3 separate regions of the Homo sapiens genome follow, and all the other regions are linked to region 3. The links are contacts of gene promoters, found by promoter capture Hi-C in human tissues and cell types (Jung and others, 2019). All regions are on one chromosome and are shown on one strand. The core of a region is centred on a gene start or on the middle of the fragment in contact, and the rest is flanking DNA. Distances in the headings are between cores, read along the strand shown. Region 1 has its middle 76 kb from the start of PPP1R36. Region 2 has its middle 58 kb from the start of PLEKHG3. Region 3 holds the start of AKAP5 (A-kinase anchoring protein 5).

What was found. Contacts are between HindIII fragments. The study calls those that stand out against the background at their distance.
Region 1: a contact is called between a fragment that was not itself captured here and the fragment with the promoter of AKAP5 in region 3, in 1 of the 25 tissues and cell types used here (liver).
Region 2: a contact is called between a fragment that was not itself captured here and the fragment with the promoter of AKAP5 in region 3, in 1 of the 25 tissues and cell types used here (hippocampus).

What each region holds. Positions count from the first base shown.
Region 1 is chr14:64,624,325-64,627,024 of GRCh38, forward strand. No RefSeq gene overlaps it. Among named protein-coding and RNA genes, the nearest start is that of PPP1R36, 76 kb to the left of the region's middle. The HindIII fragment of the contact is 6,462 bases long and covers 1-2,700 here.
Region 2 is chr14:64,644,599-64,647,375 of GRCh38, forward strand. No RefSeq gene overlaps it. Among named protein-coding and RNA genes, the nearest start is that of PLEKHG3, 58 kb to the right of the region's middle. The HindIII fragment of the contact is 5,708 bases long and covers 1-2,777 here.
Region 3 is chr14:64,464,075-64,466,774 of GRCh38, forward strand. AKAP5 (A-kinase anchoring protein 5) reads left to right here and starts at 1,425. Exons shown (of 2, transcript NM_004857.3): 1 at 1,425-1,539. It also overlaps a transcript of ZBTB25 not described here. RefSeq lists silencers at 1,220-1,619, 1,630-1,699. The HindIII fragment of the contact is 11,787 bases long and covers 1-2,461 here.

The sequences.
Region 1 (2,700 bases), core at 138-2,637, 160 kb after region 3:
TTTACAAACTCAGAGCAGTTTGAGGTCACTGTGGCCTGGAGGGCTCATGGAAGGAGAATCAGAAGAGCTCTTTGAACTGAGTCTTAAAAATCAAGGAAGAGAGGCCGGTCGCAGTGGCTCACGCCTGTAATCCCAGCACTTTGGGAGGCTGAGGAGGGAGGATCATGAGGTCAGGAGATTGAGACCATGCTGGCTAACATGGTGAAACCCCGTCTCTACTAAAAATACAAAAAAAATTAGCCGGGTGTGGTGGTGGGTGCCTGTAGTCCCAGCTACTCAGGAGGCTGAGGCAGGAGAATGGCATGAACTCGGGAGGCGGAGCTTGCAGTGAGCCCAGATTGTGCCACTGCACTCCAGCCTGGGCAACAGAGTGAGACTCCATCTCAAAAAAAAAGAAAGAAAAAAATCAAGCAAGAGGCTGAGCGTGGTGGTTCACGCCTGGAATCCCAGCACTTTGGGAGGCCAAGGCAGGAGGATAACTTGTAATGAGGAGTTTGAGACCAGCCTGGGCAACATAGTGAGACCTTGTCTCTACAAAAAATTTTTAAAAAATGAGCCAGGCATGGTGGCATGCACCTGTCGTCCTGGCTACTTGGGAGGCTGAGGTGGGAGGATCACTTGAGCCCAGGAGTTCAAGGTTGCAGTGAGCTATGATCACGCCACTGCACTCCAGCCTGGGGGACAGAACTTATCTCTGGGAAAAAAAATTAAGGAAGAGTTATTCAAGAAAGGAAGGAAAACAATCAAGCTATTCTACACTGTGTGAAAGTGAGGGTGAGCTGAGCCCTTCCAGGGGCTGACGCTGTGGCCCCTTCCTTTACTTTGAAATGCTTCCTTTCTGCTTCAACTGGTTTAACCAAATAACAGAACCCTGTTAGGCTGCAGGCCTACCCCTAAATCAAATGACGATTTGAACTCCTGAAGGTGAAGGAGCCCCTAAATCCCAGCTCCCCCACGCTGGCCCCAAGTGACCCAATACATGCATATATAGTCTCAGAAATAAGAATAGCTCATTTCAGAAGCTGGGGTCAGGTGTGGGGTTGGACAGAGGGTGAGCCAAAGGCTAGCCGGGGTGGAAGGTGAGGGGCAGGAAGATACCCCAGAAAGAGCTGCCGAAGAATGGTGAAGATTTGTGCAGAGACTCTTATAGGCTTGAGGAGGTCAGACAACAGGCTGCTCTGTTTGTCTTGTAGGTAGGGGCAGAAAGGCAAATAGAAGGAAAGAATCCAGAGCTGATCTGCCCCACCCTCTGAGTTCCATATTGAGCCTTTGTAATCCAATAGTAAGATTCTCCCTGAGGCAACAGACTCTTATGTCTCCCCGCTTTCACAGCTACAGGGATTTCATACTTTAAACTCTGCACATGGAGGGAAAATAACAGGAAGGACATGCGCGGTGAGCTCTGTGACCTTGGGTCTCTTGTCGGTCTCAGTGCCTCTGCGCTGTTTCCTTGCACTTGACCTGGGTGTCCTGGCTGCTGCCAACTCCGGAGCCAGCTCTTGCCTCGGCTCACCAGCTTCTCCCCGCACCCCCTGGCTGCACTTTCTCTTTTTGATCTCTATGCTAACAACAGCCCAGGCAAGTCAGGAGTACCACGGGGCCTGCCCAGGCCCTTCTTCTGGATCTGGAGCAGGAGGGAGGAAGAGGCAGGAGCCCAGCATGTGTGAGGGGTGAAGCCAGAGGAGAACACTGGGAGTGCCCCCCGACTTGCTCCGTGAGGGCCTCTGCCGGGTCTGAAGGGCTGCTCAGGAAAACATGCACCTGAGCCAGTGGCCCTGGGGCTCTCAGCCTGCCTGGGAGCTGGGAGCCGGGAGCCACTGTAGTTTGGTTTTTGTGTGGGAGTTGCCTTTTATTTTTACCTGTGTATTTATTCATCTGGATTGTATGATAACTCTAAGAGGACAGGTCTAGTCTTCACCACTGATACAGTTTGGCTGTGTCCCTACCCAAATCTCATCTTGAATTGTAGCTCCCATAATCCCCACATGTTGTGAGAGGGACCTGGTGGGAGGTAATTGAATCATGGGGACGGTTACCCCCATGCTGCTGTTCCTGTGATAGTGAGTGAGTTCTCATGAGATCTGATGGTTTTTAAGGGCTTTTTTCCCCCCTTTTGCTTGGCACTTCTTGCTACCACCATGTGAAGAAGGACATGTTTGCTTCCCTTTCTGCCATGACTGTTAAGTTTCTGGAGGCCTCCCGAGCCCTGCTGAACTACGAGTCAATTAAACCTCTTTTCTTTATAAATTACCCAGTCTTGGGTATGTCTTTATTAGCAGCATGAGAATGGACTAATACAAACACTATCAGCAAGAAGTGTCATAATGGCACTGCCAAGGGGAGGTGCCCAGTGAGGCTTTCTTCAAATGAAAAGACAATATAAGCTTCAAGAGGGTGAGGTGGAGGGGTTTGCTGTTTTATTTATTGCTGTAACCTCTAGTCTGGGGGTGGGGATCCACTGTGCTATGTTAGAAGCATGATAAGGGAAAGAGAATCACCATCTTTACTGTTCCCATAGGTGTAAAAACCACTTACAGTTCCTTTGTCAGGAGTATTGGAGACCTATGTGCTTGTCACATAGTAGGTACTAAGTAAATATATACTTTTTATTGAATTAAGTAAGCATTTACCCTGATATAGGCTAGAAGCCTTTTTAAAAGGTTATGACCTGGAGAAAGTCATGGCAAAATTTTTGCAGAG
Region 2 (2,777 bases), core at 14-2,513, 180 kb after region 3:
CCAGGAGCTGGCATGGACAGGAAAGGTCTCTTACCTTCAACAAGAGCTAGAACTCAGATGGAACGCTGAGCTTAGATAAGTGACTAGAGAGAGCAAGATCCTACTGTCAGAGGCATGCGAACGAGAACAACTCCATCTTGAATAGGGGCTGGGTAAAATAAGGCTGAAACCTACTAGGCTGCATTCCCAGAAGGTTAGGCATTCTAGTCACAGGATGAGATAGGAGGTCGGCACAAGACACAGGTCATGAAGACCTTGCTGATAAAACAGGTTGCAGTAAAGAAGCCGGCTAAATCTCACCAGAACCAAGATGGCCACGAGACTGGCCTCTGGTCATCCTCACTGCTACACTCCCACCAGCGCCATGATGGTTTACAAATGCCATGGCAATGACAGGAAGTTATCCTATATGGTCTAAAAAGGGAGGCGTGAATAATCCACCCCTTGTTTAGCATGTAATCAAGAAATAAACACAAAAAATGGGCAACCAGCAGCCCTCGGGGCTGCTCTGTCCATGAAGTAGCCATTCTTTTGTTCCTTTACTTTCCTAATAAACTTGCTTCACTTTACTCTATGGACTTGCCCTGAATTCTTTCTTGTGTGAGATCCAAGAACCCTCTCTTGGGGTCTGGATTGGGTCCCCTTTCCTGTACCACTGCCAGGCGGGGGCAGAGGCACATGCTAAGGACAGGTAGAGAGCACCCAGTTCCTGCACGGGGAAGACAGGGTAGGGCCAGCTTTTGCAGAGGCCCCGTCATGCCCTGAAGGATCTTGGAAAAGAAGGGTTAAAGGCTGTTCTTTCCTTAGTAGAGCTGCCACCCACAATTTGAAATGACATATGTGCTCCGCCTACGCATTCAGGGCAGTTTCATGGGAGATGTGCGTAATTCCTTTAACCTGACAACATGACCTAGTGTCTCCTCTTTATTTTATAATGATCTACTTTTAAGAGAATTTATGGAGTCTGATGAATAGCTTCACATTTTTTCCTTTGAACTCCCAGATGCTGACCATATTCCAAATTCCAGCTGAAGTTCCCAGCCCTTCACCAGAGCCGTCTGGTAAATTTCTAACACTCCCCAGGACATTCCTGTTTCCTGCTGAGAAAGAAGAAAACAACAGTGCTTCCCTGAGGGCGGTTTGCTTCAGCCCCCAGGACTGGAAACTCCATTTTAGGAAAAGTGTTTACAAGGGTATAAAACTCGGAGAGGAAATGGCCTGGGAGTCTCTTGGGAAACCATCTGCGACCCCATCCTAAGGGTTTGCTGCAGAATTCTGTGGCATTCCTCAGCAGTGGGGCTGCCTAGGACATTCACTCTGATTTTGAAAATACATTGAAGTGCAAGTGTGTGTGCCAGTGGGCATCTGAAACAGCCCTGAGAAAATGACAGGCAAAGGTAAAAGAAGTGGGGGAGATAAAGAGAGAAGGAGGGAGGTGAAAGGCCTTTTTCTGCAAAAAGATCTCTTCCATGCATTTGAATATTTTTTAGGTACGGAAATATTCAAACATACAAAAATAGAGAAGATAGTGAAATGAACTACCATGTATTAAGTCATCCGGCTTCAACAAATATCGACATTTTGTACATCTTTTTCACCTATCTGCCCCCTCCTTTTTTTTTGCGGTAGAGCTGGGATTGGTAAATGACAATCCCATGGGCCAAATCCAGCCTGCCTCCTGTTCTTGTAAACAAAGTTTTATTGCAACACGGCCATGCCATTCACTTATGTATTTTCCATAGCTGCTTTTGCAACACAACAGCAAGGCTGAGCAGTCATGATAGAGACCATATGGCCCTCAAAAGCTAAAATATTTGCTATCCGGTCCTTTACAGAAAAAATTTGCTGGCCCCTACACTAGAGTCATTGCTGGGACCATAGGTGTGCACCACCACACCTGGCTAATTTTTATTATTATTATTAGTAGTAGTAGTAGTAGTAGAGTCAGAGTCTTGCTATATTGCTGAGGCTGGTCTTCAATTCCTGGGCTCAAGCGATCCTCCCACCTCAGCCTCCCAAAGTGCCATGATTACAGGTGTGAGCCACTGCACTAGGCTTAGAGTCCTAAAGCAAATACTAGACATCATATTATTTCATCTGGCTTCAAGTTTCCATCTCTAGCAGGTAAGAACTTTATAACTACCATACCAATAATGAAATGACCATGCCTAACAAAATTAGTAATTCCATCACCTCATCTCATTTATAATCTGTGTTGCAAATTACCCTAATATCTTGTGTTTTTTTTTTTTTTAAATAGAAACAGGGTCTCGCTATGTTGCCCAGGTTAGTCTTGAACTCCTGGGCTGAAGTGGTCCTCTCGTCTCGGTCTCCCAAAGTGCTGGGATTACAGGCGTGAGCCACCACGCCCAGCGCCCCCCAATATCTTTAAAAATATCTTTTTACAGTTATTTTTTTTACATCCTGATCTAAATAAAGTTCTCACATTGCATTTGGTTGATATATCTCTTAAGTATTTCTTAATCCGTTGTCATTTCTCCCTTACCCCCTTGCCTTCTTTCAATTACATTTATGTGTTAAAGAAACCAGGTCGTTTGTCCTCTGCAATCCCCACATGCTGGATATGGCTGGTTGAATCCTCACTGCATCATTTATCTCGACCGCAGTGCTTTTTTTTTTTTTTTTTTTGGGATGGAGTCTTGCTCTGTCGCCCAGGCTGGAGTGTAGTGGTGCTATCTCCACTCACTGCAAGCTCTGCCTCCTGGGTTCACACCATTCTCCTGCCTCAGCCTCCCAAGTAGCTGGGACTACAGGCT
Region 3 (2,700 bases), core at 175-2,674:
CCAGGCTGGCGTGCAGTGGTGCAGTAGTGGCTCACAGCAGCCTTGACCTTCTGGGCCCAAGTGATCCTCCCTTCTCAGCCTCCTGAGCTCCTGAGTAACTGGGACCATACGTGCACCACCATGCCCAGCTAATTTTTTAGATTTTTTTGTCTCCCTATGTTGCCCAGGCTGGTCTCAAACTCTTGGACTCAAGCCATCCTCCTGCCTTGGCCTCCCAAAGTGCTGGGATTACAGGTGTGAGCTACTGCGCCCATCCCTGAATTCTTAATTACAACTAAACTAGATGCTTATGGATTTTCCTGTTTTACAACTCTTGCCTCTTTTATCTGTAATTTTAAGATCTTGACAGCTTATATTTGGCTTTGCTTTTGTGTCTCAAGAGTTCTTTCCTTGATAAGCCTCTGTGGAAACTACAGAATCTTACAAATATAAAACATTTCCGGAAAAAATACAAAAATGGACACCTGACATTTACACTCCCTAAGGTCGTGATCCTGTTGAAGAAAGGAGATGAACGCGGCTGCTTTTCAGTAGTTCTTCACTTCACCTTACCAGGTTCTTCATCTGGATGCTATGCTATGGGGGCCAGAGGAGGAGGCTGGGATTGTGATGGATCCTACTAGATTTTACAGCTGGAGCTCCCAGGAATGCCCTCATAGGGAATGTCCTGAAGGGAATCATGGGTAACTTGTAAGCTACCTCAACTTATTTTTGGAACTATGTAAGGTATAAGATGGATGGAGCTGGGTTCCTGTGCCTTTCTCACCTTGTCCGCATAGAGATGCAGCTGCTCCTGCAGGCCAAAGTTCTGCACCAATCACCTCCACCTGCTTCCCACTGGGAGACAAAGGTTTGAAAGCCTGTTTGGCGATGAACCACGATGATCTGACACTCAAGCCACTCCTGAGAAAGTCGGGTTTCTTTCTGTTTCCATTTATATATGTAATTTTCGCTTCAAACAAACATGACCTCGCTATTCTATGCACAGTTTTGAATCCTGCTTTTAAAATGCGATGTCTGCCTTGTCTTTAAATATTCTGAGGGGGAGGAGAGGAGATGTGTAATGCGACTGTCTATAATTTGAAACCGGACCTCACTATTTAGCGTCTCAGAAAACGCGGGGTTCATTGCCCTGGTCCCCCCCGCCTTCCCCCGCCCCCCGAACCTTCCGGCTGGCTCTCTTGCGGTCCCCGCCTCGGCGCTGATGTGGTCTGGCAGTGGAGATTGGCGCCCGGGCGGAGCACGATGGGCTTCCCCGCGGCAGGCAGGCAGGCTGCTGCTGCAGGTGGGTCCCGGCGCCCGCGCCGCCCCGCGCCTCCGGCGGTCGCCCCGCCCCTGCCCGCCCGCTCCGCTCCGCTCGCATTGGCGCTGCCTGCTGTCTGTCCCCGCGCGGTGGGGAGGGGGCGCACCCGGCGGCGGGCTCTGCAGAGGGCGCCTTGCTCCGGGTGCGACCGCGGCTCCCTGGAGGCCTGGGCGGCGGGCCCCGCGAGCGCGCCGCCACCTCGGGAGCAGTGTTGGCCAAGGACCCCGACGCCCTACGTAAGTAAAGGCAGGGCGGGGAGCCTGCGGGGGAGGAGGGTCGGGGGCAATGTCCGGTCCGCGGACCGCGGAGTGGGCAAGAGGTGCCCACTGGATACGGGGTATCCGAGCCCTCTGAGGTGCTGGGAGTAAGAACGCGGGAGGTCGCTTGTCCGCTGGAATCCGCGGCCAGGGCGACCCTCATCAGGTCTGCCCACCTATCCCCTTCGCGTTACAGCTTGTCTTAGAAGCATGGGTTGCCGGTGGCTTTTTTCCTTCTTTATCCCTCTTTGAGAAATGTGATTTTGGGTTTCTGGCCATTACATTATAATTCTGCAGACAGCCTGAAGCTGGGTTATCTGTTCCACGCCCCCGGCATTTTCCTTTTTGAGTACTTTATCCTGCGCTCTGTCTCCTGCCATAAGGGGCGTCAAGCCAGAATTCGAGATTCCTTCCTCCAGGAGGAAGCTTCGTGGTCCGTATCTGGTGCTGGGAAAGATGCATTGCTTTCCTCGGGTACTGGCTGCTCAAGGGAAAAAGGAAAGGGGGTGTTTTCTGTGACATGAGACTTGCAATTCCATCAGGAAATGAGCACAGGGACTTTAAGATTTCCTGAGGCGATAAAGCTACCCTTGCTGGTTAAGAGCGAATCATTTGCAGTCTGACATTCTGCAAAGTTTTATTGTCTACAGACTGCATTATTTTCCCTCGTTAGTTAAGTTTCTGTTTGGGTATTCGTTTTATTTCTAGTATGTGAGATACATTCAAGTGAGCTTCTCAAACGATTGTCTTTGCGCAATCCAGGTTAGTTTCCAATGACAGACTCCTAAACATCTCATTTCAATATTTCTATTATGTGGTAATACAGCCTCTGCTTAACAAAAATGCTCAGGTGCTGAAAACTCACAAGAGGTGAGAAGATTTAAACAGTTATCAGCTTAGGTTCTAGTGCTCACTGAAACATTGTGAGGAGAAACACTGTCAAATGTTCATATTTTAGTTCCGTCATTGTTCTAGAATGACTTTATCTTTCTGTTAGAGGCACACAGTATGAAACACCCAACCTAAGATAATATTTACTTAGATCATAAACTGATTTTCAGGGTTCCAGTTCCTTCTACAGTTCATAAAATTATGGGTTACCCAAATGAAACTTCAGTGAAGGATTTACATAAAAACAAT